Regions from separate parts of the Homo sapiens genome. Here all the other regions are linked to region 1. Evidence: promoter capture Hi-C in human tissues and cell types (Jung and others, 2019). All regions are on one chromosome and are shown on one strand. Each heading gives the region's core, a stretch centred on a gene start or on the middle of the fragment in contact. The rest is flanking DNA. Distances are from core to core; before and after follow the strand shown. Region 1 holds the start of MAF (MAF bZIP transcription factor). Region 2 overlaps DYNLRB2-AS1 (DYNLRB2 antisense RNA 1). Region 3 overlaps WWOX (WW domain containing oxidoreductase).

Region 1 (4,291 bases), core at 501-3,000:
GGCAGGACTGGGCATAGCCGCGGTTTTTCAGGGTCCGCCTCTTCTGCTTCAGCCGGATCACCTCCTCCTTGCTGACCCCGCGCAGCTGCCGGTTCAGCTCGCGCACAGACATGGTCACCAGCTGCTCGTCGGAGAAGCGGTCGTCGAAGTGCAGGCCGCCGGCGGCGTGGTGCGGGTGCAGGGCGCCCCCCGCCCCCGCCGCGCCCCCGCCGCCTCCGCCGCCGCCGCCGCCGCCGCCGCCCCCAGCGCTGGCCGGGCCACCGCCGCCCGCGCCCCCAGCGCCACCGGCCGAGGCGGCCGCGCTGCCCGCGGCGCCGGGCGCGCCGGCCGTCGGGTGGTGGTGGTGGCCGGCGGCGTGGTGGTGGTGGTGGTGGTAGTGCGGGCCCGCGCCGCTCTGCGCGGCGGCCGCGGCGATCACGGCGGACACCACGGCGGCGGCGGGGCCCATCTCCTCGCCGCTGCCGCCCAAGGAGGCGCCGGCACCGGCCCCGGCCGCCGCGGCCAGCTGCTGCGCCCCGCGCGCGTAGCCATCGAAGCCGCCCTGGAGCTGGTGGCTGTTGCTGATGAGCGCCTCGACCGCGTCCTCGGGGCTGAAGCCCAGCGCCTCGGGGTTCAGCTGCTGCGGGTAGCCGGTCATCCAGTAGTAGTCTTCCAGGTGCGCCTTCTGCTCGCTGCCCGAGCCCGGGCTGGGCGCCGAGAAGCTGGGGGAAGGGGGCACCGAGCTGCACGGCGTGCTCATGGGGGTGGAGGACAGCGAGCCCCCGGCGATGAGACGGCCGCACTGGCTGATGATGCGGTCGGTCTCCACCGGTTCCTTTTTCACTTCAAACTTCATCAGATCGAAGTCATTAACATATTCCATGGCCAGGGGACTGGTGGGCAGGTCGGAGTTGCTCATTGCCAGTTCTGATGCCATTCTCCTGCCGCCGCCGCCGCCGCCGCCGCCGCTCCGCCAGATGGGCTGCAGGAGAGGGGCCAGCGGGCTGTGCTGGGTGGCCAGCGGGTGAGCCAGCTTGCCGGGCTGGGGCGCTTCTAGCTTGCGCGGCGGTGGCTGGCCCGAAACCTCCGAGCGCGCTCACACACACACCCCCCCGCCCTGCCCGCGCCCCCCGCGCCCGCCCTCCCTCCCCCCTGCTCACGCCAATGTGCTCCCTCGCTCGCCCCGGCCCCTCCTTGCTCGCTCGCCTCCTTGCGCGCCGAGCCGGCGGCTTCAGGCTCGGGAAGATCCTCCGCGAGCTGCGGTGGCGGCGGTGGTGGCTGCGGCGGCGAAGCTGGAGGAGCCCGGCCCGGTGCGCGGCGTCCCCCGCTCGCCGCTCCGCTGCGCGCTTTGCATAAGGAAGGGCTCGCCTCGCCGGCCCGGGCTGCAGGCAGGGCGCGCGCGGCGTCCGCTCGGGGCTGGAGGCGCGGCGGGCGTCTGTCCGGGCGGCGCGGGCCTTGGCACGGGGGAGTTAACACTTCATGCTTCTCGCCTCCTCTTCTGCTTGGCTCTCTTTATTATTTTTTTTCTTTCCTCTCTCTCCCTCGCGCGCTCTCTACCTCTGTGCAAAGTGCAAGGCAGAGGTGCAGCCCGACTGGAGGAGAGGGAGGGGGGAGTTTAGTTCTTTCTTGCCTTTTTTTAAAAAAGCAAAATAGCGAAGTCCTGGGGAAAGACGAGGCAGAGAGCAAAGGGGGGAGGGGGAGGCCAAGCCGACAAGCAGCCCGAGCTACAGCTAGAAGATGAAAAAAGATTTTAAAGCCTCTGATCCAGCAAGAAGAGTTTAAAGCAATTGCTGAGTTTTATAGCACTCGTGACGTCAGGTCCAAATGAGAAATTGACTGGCACTCCGGGCCAATGGGAGGCGGCGAGAGCGGCCGCGATTAGCATAATAGTATAGAAACAAGGAAACTTTTCGGAGCTGTCAATCAGGGCCCAATCAGCTGACTGTCAGCTGGGACGGGCTGGCTTAACCCTTCCTGCGCCGCTGCCTACCCGGGAGGGAACGAGGCCCGGCGCAAAGTTTGGTGTAAGAGGGGAAGGAGTTTTTCCAGAGGGGCTTCGGCAATCCGGGCGGACCTGGGAGGGCGGTTTGCTTTTCTTTGGAGCGCGAGACAGGCCTCCCATCCGGAGCCCCAGCTCGCTGGGGGCTCACTCGGCTGGGATTGGCCTGATTCCCCTCCCCTGCCTGCCCTCCACCCCCAGGATTGTGAATTCGCCTCCCAGCTTTTCCTCCTCGCACCAACTCTGGTACCCAGGTGTCTGCCGGGGACCTTCCTTCCCTGAGCCTGGCCGTGCCCGGCGCTCAAACTTGGCCCCAACTCTTTGTCCGTCTCTCGGGCGCCCGTGCGGGGAAGGGACCGGGAAGGGAGGGATGCAGTGGGGTGTCCGGATCGGGGCTGCGGGCTGGGCGCCGCCCGGCCATGCGCCTGCCCAGAAGGCTGGGCATCCGTGGAGAGGGAAAGCCCATTTTATCCCTCTCTTTACAACGAGGTAAAATAAGTTGTTTAGAGGCCATTCTTCACGGAGACCGGCTGCCCGCTGGCGTCGCGTGCCCTTGGACAGAGCGAGCGCCTATGCGAGATAACTCCGGGGAAGCTCAAAGTCAGGTCAGCCGGGCTCAGCCTTCCGGCTCCTGACTGGCCGGAGTTTGGCCTTTGAGACTCATATTGCGCGCTCGCTCTCTCTCTCTCTTACACACACACACACAAACACACACACACTCACACTCACCCGTCCCCTTACGAAATCTGACCTCTGTTTATCAGGGTCAGGCGCGCCCTTTGCACTTTTACGTTTCCTTTAATTATTTCGGACTTGATCGTGGCAGGGAGCAAGGGGGAAAAACAATACCCCAGCCCTCACCAGCTACCCTCGAAGGGTTAAATTTTAAACCGCGGTTTCTGGAACTAGTCCGGAAACGCAGAGTGGGGGGTGGGGTGGGGGAGGCTGCTCCCCCCACCCCCAGTTGCAAATGCTAATAAGTAGTTCAAATTTCTAGATTGATTCTCTAAAAGTTTATGCAAAAAAGAAATAAAAAAGAAAAAGAAAAAAGAAGGAAACCAACAACTAACTCTGTTTCTAAGATTTTAAAGCGATAGGCAAGTCGAAGAAGCAGAGATTTATTTGGAGAGAAAGCTCCTGAAACCGACCCAGCCTTTGGAAGACCAGCCCGTCTGCTTAGAAGTTGGGACTGTTGATTCCTTCAATTAATGAAATGCATTTGGTGTTTTTAATCGTATTTATTTTACTTTATGAGAAGGGGGAGACGCTAGGAGGGTGCATTAAAAAAAAAAAAAAATTCTGAAAAGCCTGCAAAAGGATCGAAGAGTGGAAACTATTGTTGGAGCGAGTTGGTTTTTACCTCAACAGCGCCACCTTTCGGCAAAGGTCAGTTGAAATTGATCCGTGTCCAGTTTTGTCGATGAAGTGAAAAGCAGCTGGTTACCCAGTGTGGGAGGAGGAAAGAGACACACAAAGTTAGTTTGACTGAAGTGGGAGAACCCGACCCTATAGGAAAGGGGCCGAAGAAAGTGCTGGCAGATGCAGAGATCATTTTTGCCCCTCCTCTTCTCCTTGATTGTTGACAAAGAGGCCAGGGGATACAGACACCCTCGGGGTGTAATTTCTGGCTGAGACCTTTGCAAGAGGATCCCCATGTAACAGGGCCCCAAACCCTTTAAAAGTGCCAGGATGGATTTTCAACGGGCTTTATGGCAATATCAATAGGATTAAAGTTACTTGTAATTCAGTGATAAATGAGATGTCTCTAGTAAGTAAGATTAAGTGCAGTGCTATAAAGTTGTTTATCTGGAAAGTAATTCTCAGAAAACCTGACTTCTGACACTTAGTCATATATTAAGCCAGCGTCTTGAACATTGCACTTCAGAATGGTCTTCCCCACCCCGCAGCATGCTTTGCTATTTATAACCTCAGGTGTCTCTCACTCGTTCCTTGCACCATATTAGACCTGTGTTAATTTCTCTGATCCTAGTAGACTTCAGTTTCAGCAAACCCAGGAATCCTTAATGGAAGACTTCCCAAAAGATTCGTAGGCACACCCTAATCTGAAAAGGGCAGCGCTGTCGGTATTTTTCAGACAAGTAGTGTTTCTTTTCATCGTGACTGCAGAGAAGTTGTTAATAAGGGTAGTTTTGGTCTTATAAGAGCATTTTGTTGGGTGGAATAAACTATGTCTATTACCAGTTTGGGGAAGAAAGAGTGAAGATTATGTCAATATTTATGCAACCTAGCAGAATTCCCTTGCTTTCCTTCTCTTTAACAATATTTTCCCTAGTAATGAAGTTAAGGGATTAT
Region 2 (4,291 bases), core at 527-3,026, 860 kb after region 1:
CTTCCACCATGATTGTAAGTTTCCTGAGGCCTCCCCAGCCATGCAGAACTAAGTCAAACCTCTTTCCTTTATAAATTACCCCATCTCAAGTGGTTCTTTATAGCAGTTTGGAAACAGACTAATACAAGCAGTATTCTTGCCCACCCCTAAATGTACAAGTGTCCCAGGGCAGCACTCAGGCACCTGTTTTAAGAACCACCTGACCCATCTCTGCACCCAGCTATGCTGACTTGGGAGGCAGGAACAAGCCCAAATCCTGGCTGGTCCTCATGACTTTGATCCTTCAAAGCTTGCATTTAAGAAAAAAAGAAAGAAAACATGGAAAGGCAGTTAGGTTTCCATTTTCCGTTGTGCCTGATGTAGTGTTCATGCAGCAAGGAACAGACAGTTTAAGGGACCTTGTCCGGTTTCCAAAGAATTCCCAGATGCAAATTTCCCAGGAGCAAGCAAACGTGGTCTTTACTTTCTGTAGCTGCTAACTTATGAAGGAATGCATGCTCTTCAAAAAATATTTTGTAAAGATGTTCTTATTTTTTCCAAAGCCATTGACTTACAACTGGCATCTGTAGGCTACCAAAAGTAATTATAATAAATGAAGAGAAACTAGAGAAATGTTGCACAGGAAAGGGGAAATAAAAAGGAAATTTTATATACACGTACAAATGCATGTAGATGCGTGTATGTACATATGTAAATTCATTTTGTTTTCAAATTTAATGTCAAAACAGCTATAATTGCTCATTCTCCTTGTGTCAGGGGAGGAGGGATCATGTGCTCAGATGTCACCAAATGCTTCTTAAGTTCTCAACTACAAAGGACATTTTCCCTGCTCAATTTCATTATGGGAACATAACTTTACTGTCACCAACCATACAGGGAAAATCAGGTAACAAAAGAAGGAAGGATTGTGTCATTGTTGTTGCTGCTGCCGTATACAAAATATACAGTGATCGCAGAAAACCTCAAAAATATACACTCGTGAGAAAGACAACACAGAATCCTGCCACCCAGATGACTGCTGTTCACATGCTTGGTGTACACCCTTCAAGATTTCCCCCCTGCACCCAGGCACACACCTATACATTATAAACACATATACACATATGTGTGCATGTAGACATTCACATGGGCATAAGTACTATTGTCCCTGACACTTTTTTCTTCAGAATTGTGGCACAGATTGGAGGACCCCTAGGACACAGACAGGGCATCACCACCCACTGATGGTAACTGTGAAATATCTAGAACAGGGGCCCTCACAAGTTTTTCTGTAAAAGGGCAGATGATAATTATTTTACGCTTTGCAGGCCAGAGGGTCACAACTACTCAATGCTGCTATTATACCTGGAAAAGCAACCATCGATAATACGTGAGCAAATAGCTGTGGTTGTGTTCCGATAAAGCTTTATTTACAGAGCAGGAGGCGGGCTGGTGGCCCAAGAATAGTTTGCCACTCCCTGGTTTAGAACATACCATAAACCAAAAAGAGTCAAGAGAGCAGGAGACAGATTGAAGTGCATCCCTCACTGAAGAGCAAATTTCTTTTCCGTGGTCTGTGCTAGTCTCTTGCAGCAACCGTTTCTGCTTTAATGTGCATCCTCTGATACAATAATGACTATAGATAATTAGATTAAGTGAAGTTCACCCTTGTCCCAAAACAAGCTTTTTGAGACAGCAATTTCACTCCCTTTTTCTAGCTCCAGTTTCAGGGAGGGAGCCAGAACAGAAGTCACACTGACATGTCACAGGAATGCAGCAAGGTGAGGCCAGGGTGGCGTTCACTCATGTAAAACACCCTGGATCACACACCATCAGTAAATGATTTATTAAAAGCTACAAGATAAACACCGATAAAGTCTTCAGATACAGAGGCCCATGACATCTGCACAGGATGAGAGAATCAGAATGATTAATAGGGAAGGAGACAGGCTGGAAATACAGAAGACCTGCACCACCTGTGGGGAAGATCCTGGAGAACACATTTCCCACCTGCAAACAGCCTTCCAACCTCAGGCAATAAAATACACCTCTAATAACAAAAGCCATTTTGCACTATTTTCCCCCCTAGGTTTTGAGATGTAGCTCCTAAGTCCTTCATAGTGTTCAGATCCGTACCGACACAGCCTATTCTCAACAGTCACCTGACAGGCAGGGAGACCCTGCTTCTCCCGTTGAATCTTAATGACCAAGCAAATCTTAATGCGCAGCTCCAGCCGGGAGGTTTTGCAGATGCACATCCTGCACCCTCTGAGTCGCCCTCTCTCCCTGGATGAGCCAGGCCTTTCAAGGATCAGTGCCTGCACTTAACTCAATGTTCTGCTCAGCTGCTCACTCCAACCTTGCCCTTTCTTGCAGCTTCTGCAGAGATCCAAGATGTCTTCTGGGAATTTCAGCCAACAAGGGGAAATGACACTCCAATTAAACCTTCCTCTGTGATTTTCTGTTTCTTCCCACCTCACACCCATGTGCACACACTCAACCACACTTGTTTTCTACTCAGTTACCTATGGAAACACAGTCTTTTTGTGCCTGCCTCGGTGTTGGTTCCTGGAGATAAAAAGATTAATAAAATACAGTTGGTGACCTTTAATACCTTGTAGCCTATTGGGTAAGAATGATATGGACATAGAACACTCAACATCATGCAATCATGTTGTCGTCATGGTGTGTAAAAAGTACTACAGATCCAAGGATAAACAGACACAGGCACACACAAAAATGCAATAGCAAAAAGTCTGCAAGGAAGGATTGGAAATAGATAATGGTAAATGCCCCCTTCCCATTCCAAAAAAGGGTGTGGGAATGTGGATTAGATGAAGAAAGAGGTGGAATGTCTGTCATGTTTGGGTGTTTTGGTTTTGGTTTTGCATTAAAAATGTATTATACTTAGTGATATTATTTCTACTACCATGTAATTTAATTCTAAAATCCTCTAATTGCAGTTGAGCCAGGAGAAAGGTAACAGCACCTAGGGGACAAAATTCAAGGAGGCATTTGCTCCTGGAGGGATGGAGGTGTAGGGCTGGCTAAAGTAGCACAGAGAAGAGAGCAAGGAACGGTGGGAGCTTGGGAAAGACCTCAGAACAGGGCCATGTTGGAGCTGGGCCTTGCAAATTGGGAGAAAGAGAGAGATGATCCTGGGAGAGAAGAGAGATGATTTGGCAGAGAGAGCAGCATGGGGGAAAGGCAGGGAAGTACAATGGAGGATGATGAGTAATTATGAATGCCAAGGACAGAGAATGTGGGGTGAGAAGGAGAAAGAAAAACACACATATGAATACTTGCACACACACACTCATACATACACATGCCCAGATAGCATTTTCATTAAAGGGTCAACTTGTATGCTCACCAGCAGTATCTAAAATGAGATTGAGTGGCTGGCTGCCCCAGCCTCATGGTTCCAGTCCAGATGCCCTCAAGAAGCTCAGTATTATTGCTTTACTCTAAATCGTGTCTATATCTTGATGGATCTTGAGATCCATTCCAAGGGTGCCACTTAGACCTCTTGTCTCTCCTTCCTCCATCCCTTCCTTGAGTTGCCCTCTTCTAGGGACCATTTGACAAAGCTAAGTCACATAATAAAATTTTCTACTAAGTATGCCAGACATCGTTCCTAGTGCCTCACCTATATTATCTCATTTATGTATCACAAAAATCTAACATGTACATAGTTATTATTACCATTTTATAGACAGAGCAACTTGGGGTCAGAGTAATTAAGTCGCTTAACCAGAACACAGAGGAAAGAAATGAGAAGGCCAGGCCTCAAAGCCATACCAGCTGATGCCAAATGGGGGTATTTGGTTTTTTGTTTTTGTTTTGAGATGCAGTCTCTATCACACAGGCTGGAATGCAGTGGCACAATCACAGCTCAATGGAGCCTCGACTTCCTGGGCTGAAGCGATCCTCCTACCTCAGCCTCCCAAGTAACTGGGACTACAGCCACAGACCACAACACCTGGCTAATTTTCCTATTTTTTCTAGAGATGGGGTTTCACCATGTTGCCCAGGCTGATCTTGAACTCCTGGGCTCAAATGATCCTCCTACCTCAACCTCCCAAAGCGCTGGCATTACTGGCGTGAGCCACCATCCCCGGCCTCATGCCTAACGTTATGCTAACTATTGTGCTATCCTCTGCAGTTAATTACAGAAAACACCTGCACAAAAATGCGTGGCAGTCAATGCAGTAGAGAAGAGATAAAGACCTAACTTGGGGTTTCTGAACAAATAGTCCCTGTCCATAGACCATGAGCAAAGGTGGACGCAAACAGCCCTGACAAGTGAGCG
Region 3 (4,291 bases), core at 629-3,128, 850 kb before region 1:
TGCCTGAGTTTTTCTTAGACTCAGCATCCTGCAGCCGAAATAACCATGCTTCTTAGTGGTCCTCTTGCGTAGCAGCCTAAGAAACTCCAAGTCCATCTGCGCCGAAGAGTATTGAACTTGGCCAGAGCACTTGGGATCTGCAGAAGTGTCCCCTGTCTGTTAGTTTTTTCACAGACTCTGCTCTTTCTCTCCCAGACCGGACCCTCCACTCCTCTATCTCGCATTTATCCATTGCACCCCGTGTCATTGCCGAATTCCTGAGCTACAAAGGTGAACAGGCACCAAAGCTAGGGCAGTGTCCACTCAATACATATCTGATGAATGAATGAATGAACCTTGTCTACCACAGATAGCTCACCACAAATAAACATTTTAATCTACTATAAAATAGCTCAAAAGACTCTATGCAAATAATTACTGTTACCCAGTGGTGGAAGTGCTTCACTTTTTATGGAAAGTCTTTCACTCATTTCTATCTGCAGTATTTACTGGGCATTTTTCCACGCCAAGCCCTGGGGATACAGAGTTAAATAAAATAGAAGCTTAATCCAGGCATGCTGGCTGTAAAGTTCACCTTTCGGCTCCTTTCTGCCATTCTTATTAGGGTCTTGCCCCATCTTGGCAGCAAGCCTGCTTTACCATTGGAGACCTCAGCTCTGATTACAATACGTCCGTGATCAACATGCCCTAACTGGTTAGCAGATGGCAGCTGCATGAAGTCACTGGGCCCAGATAGGAATCAACAAGGGAGATTAGGTAAAGTGCTTATTTGAGGTGCTGTCAGGGCCCGTGGCAAAGGGTTCCCTCATTCCCTCTGCAGTTATTTTTCATGCACACTCGGATTACACTGCTCGGTGATATTACATCTGCATGCGTCTTGCCCTCTGACACGGCAAACACAGATGCTGCCCAAATCCTTGTAAAGCCATATATCTTAAGTAGGAAGGAGCATCTTTGCAGGGGAGGTGAATTGATTTGCAAAGCAGCCTGACACATGGTCTCTTATTTCTCCTTGCAATCAAATAATTCATCTTTATGCCCGTAGGGCCGTGGTGAAATTTGAACCTGACCAAATCAACGACTGCAAGGTTTATTTGTAGCAGTGGGATCAGAGAAATTAGCCAAGTGTATTCTAAAATTATCAATTGCTGATCACATGGTCTGGATGTGTTTTAGTGCTTAGGGGTTGGTGGACCGAGGCTATGGTGGCATAGTCCTCCATGACCAAGGGCTGTCTGCATGGGTACGCAGATAAAACATGCACTGCCATGGGGTGACCTGTGTGCCATGCATCACACACAGACTACTGTTTAACCACCTACATCATAGGTAGATCCTGCATTTTACAAATGAGGAAACAGAGCTCGAGAGAAGTTCAATCCTCTTCCCTACAGAGAGGAAAGGGGAAAAAAATGGACTTTCAAGACAGCTGAAATTCAAAACAAAACAATGTTTTAAAATTGAATACAGCCTTTTGCATTAAAATTACCATTTTAATAATAGTTTAAAAGAGAGAAAGAGAGAGACCCAAAATAGTCAAACTGAGGTTTTGGGTTCTGGTGATAGAATATTAAATCATAATGAAGCATTTAATGTTTTGTTGTTGTTACAATTGTTGTTTTACCCTAGGGCTATGCAAAGTAGTTTAAGGATGTATTTATTTCAGTGGGGAAAAAAAGTGGAGGATATACATTTGGAGGATAAGGAAGCATGAATTAGGGTGGAGGAAGTGTTTTCTGGTCTAGCTAAGGAGGAAAAATTATAGACCTCAAAATAGGTGTCATTTAATATATATCTGTGAAAATGGGCCAAATAGATTGCCTCCGTTAAAGCCGTATTGGATGTTCAAATCTCGAGTTACCTGAAATGCAACTGTACTTCCTATATTTAACCAGGCTTTTTATAAACTGTTCCTCTTAACACCTCAAGCTGACAACCACATCCTGGGTGGTTATTTAATACCAAGTTTGACTTTCTTCACTTTGAGGGTCCTCAAAATAGAAGGTCAGAGAGTAGACTTTTAAAAGTCTTGCACTGTTTACAAGTCAGATGCTTTTTGGCAGAGTGACTCTCAGCTCCCCCCAACAATCCCTTCTTGTCGTTCAGTAGTAGATAGACTCTATCAGGGAAAAATAGGAGAAATAAAATAAGACAGCATATGGAAGGCATTGCTGAAAGTCTTTTTCACACCTTAAAAACAAGGAAGAAGAGAAATGAAAATAAAATAGTGAGCAACACCTCGGTGAAAGTAGAGGTGTTTGTACAGTTCAGCTGCTGCCTTATTCAAAAACAGGAAGAAAAACCCACTGCCCAGGTCAGCTGGTGGGTGATCTCCACTGAACTCCTATTCAGAGGCTCAGTTTCTCTGCAGGACAGAAATGAGAGGCACAAAATTTCATAGCTGTCTTGCCCCTCCTGTGGTCTGTAAGAATGGGACCAGGACTCCTAGTTGTGAACCCGAAAGGATTTCCATTAGGATCAGGAAGTGTGAGTTGGCTTAGAAAAAGTAAAGAAAGAACAGTGCTGTTTCATTTATTTATCATGTGTAAGTAAACTGGGATTTATTTTATTTTATTTTTTATTTTTTGTTTCAGTTTCGGGGGGTACATGTGTAGGTCTGTTACATGGATATCTTGCAAGATACTGAGATTTGGGCTTCAATTGAACCCATCACCCAAATTAGTAAACATAGTACTCAATAGGTAGTTTTTCAATCCTTTTCTCCTTCCCTCCCTAGTCCCCCCTTTTGAAGTCCCCAGAGTCTATTGTTCCTGTCTTCATGCCCATGTGTACGCAGTGTTGAGCTTCGACTTGTAAGTAAGAACATGCGGTATTTGGTTTTCTGTTTCTGCATTTATTCGCTCAGGATAATGGCTTCAAGCTGTATCCACGTTGCTGCAAAGAACATGATTTTCTTCTTTTTTATGGCTGTGTAGTATTTCGTGGTGTATACGTACCACATTTTCTTTAACTAATCCACCATTGATGGGCACTTAGGATGATTCCATGTCTTTGCTGTTGTGGGTAGTGCTGCCAAGAACGTGAGTGCAGGTGTCTTTTTAGTAGAGTGATTTATTTTCCTTTGAATGTATACCCACTAATAAGATTGCTAGGTCAAATGGTAATTCTATTTTTAGACCTTTGAGAAATCTCCAATTTATTTTTCATAGGGACAAGGTTGCAGAGAAAAGAGAAGAGTGCTGTTTCAAACAGTTGAAACCATTCCTACTTCCAAAAAGAATTTGACTCAAAAGGGAATAGTACACTACATATAAAAGACAGATGTATTTAATTTGTGTTTCGAACTACATATCAGAAATTAGTTAGAAGAAGATATGAGATAAATATACCTGGAAACTTTATGAATTATTTCTGACATCTAGCATTAAATTTAGCTGGGTTTCCTGGGAGTCAAAAGCAAAGAGTTTTCAACCAAAAAAAAGAAACAGAGGTGTATAGTAACACACCTCTGTCCTGCAACATAACTGTAAGAATTTATCAGATTATATATATATATATTTATCAGATTATATATATATTTATCAGATTTTATATATATATATATATATATATATATGCATATGTTTGTATATAAATATACATGTAAAGACCCAAAACTCATATAAAAAGACAAGGTGATACAGCATTTTAAAACAGTTTACTAAAAATAACAAAACATTCTTCCATCAGTCATGCATGCCTTATATTTATGTAGATACAAAAATAGAGTTTGATATTAAACAATACTCCAAGAAAGCCATTTCTGCAGAGTTAAAAAATACGTAGGTTCAGTTCCTTACCAACACGTAGACATGTTGTGATGAAAGAAGGAAAGGAAGGAAGGAAGGAGGAAGGGAAGAAGGAGGGAGGGAGGGAAAGAGAGAGAGAGAAAAGGAAGAGAAAGGATTTTCTAGAAAAAGAAAGGAAGGAGGGAGGGAAGGTAAGAAAGAAATTAATTCCCATTTTAGAGTAAGACTGGAGGCAGAGTGGTCACCCAGATGAAAATGAATAACCCAACTGTGTCTTTCTTCTGGTGCCTCCACGTGGAAGTGGGCTGCCACAATACTTCTAAAGAGAATTGGCATTTTTCTTTAAATAAGGAGGAGGATGAGGAGAGAGACGACACAAAATTCACTCACAGAAGTGAACATAAATTCTAACATTGGTAAAACTTTGTCTTTGTTTTAAATAATCAGTCAGTTGTCTCAATCCATAAAAGAGTATCTCTTGTACAATGTCTGCTTTTGAGTGATTCACTTCGATGCGTACTGAAAATATACCTTTAAGTAGT

The links. The method cuts DNA at HindIII sites, captures the fragments that hold promoters and counts their contacts. A contact is called where the count stands out against the background at its distance.
Region 2: a fragment that was not itself captured here is called in contact with the fragment with the promoter of MAF in region 1 in 1 of the 25 tissues and cell types used here (heart left ventricle).
Region 3: a contact is called between a fragment that was not itself captured here and the fragment with the promoter of MAF in region 1, in 1 of the 25 tissues and cell types used here (mesenchymal stem cells).

What each region holds. Positions count from the first base shown.
Region 1 is chr16:79,598,987-79,603,277 of GRCh38, forward strand. It overlaps MAF (MAF bZIP transcription factor), which reads right to left and starts at 1,751. Exons shown (of 2, transcript NM_005360.5): 1 at 1-1,751. The coding sequence starts at 916. LOC101928230 (a long non-coding RNA gene) reads left to right here and starts at 1,901. Exons shown (of 3, transcript NR_188556.1): 1 at 1,901-2,003; 2 at 3,061-3,364. RefSeq lists an enhancer at 1,666-1,960. The HindIII fragment of the contact is 24,643 bases long and covers 1-4,291 here.
Region 2 is chr16:80,461,697-80,465,987 of GRCh38, forward strand. The region is part of intron 2 of DYNLRB2-AS1 (DYNLRB2 antisense RNA 1); the gene reads right to left. Among named protein-coding and RNA genes, the nearest start is that of DYNLRB2, 77 kb to the right of the region's middle. RefSeq lists an enhancer at 4,169-4,291. The HindIII fragment of the contact is 5,772 bases long and covers 1-4,291 here.
Region 3 is chr16:78,747,912-78,752,202 of GRCh38, forward strand. All of the region lies in intron 8 of WWOX (WW domain containing oxidoreductase), which reads left to right. Among named protein-coding and RNA genes, the nearest start is that of WWOX-AS2, 250 kb to the left of the region's middle. The HindIII fragment of the contact is 9,408 bases long and covers 1-4,291 here.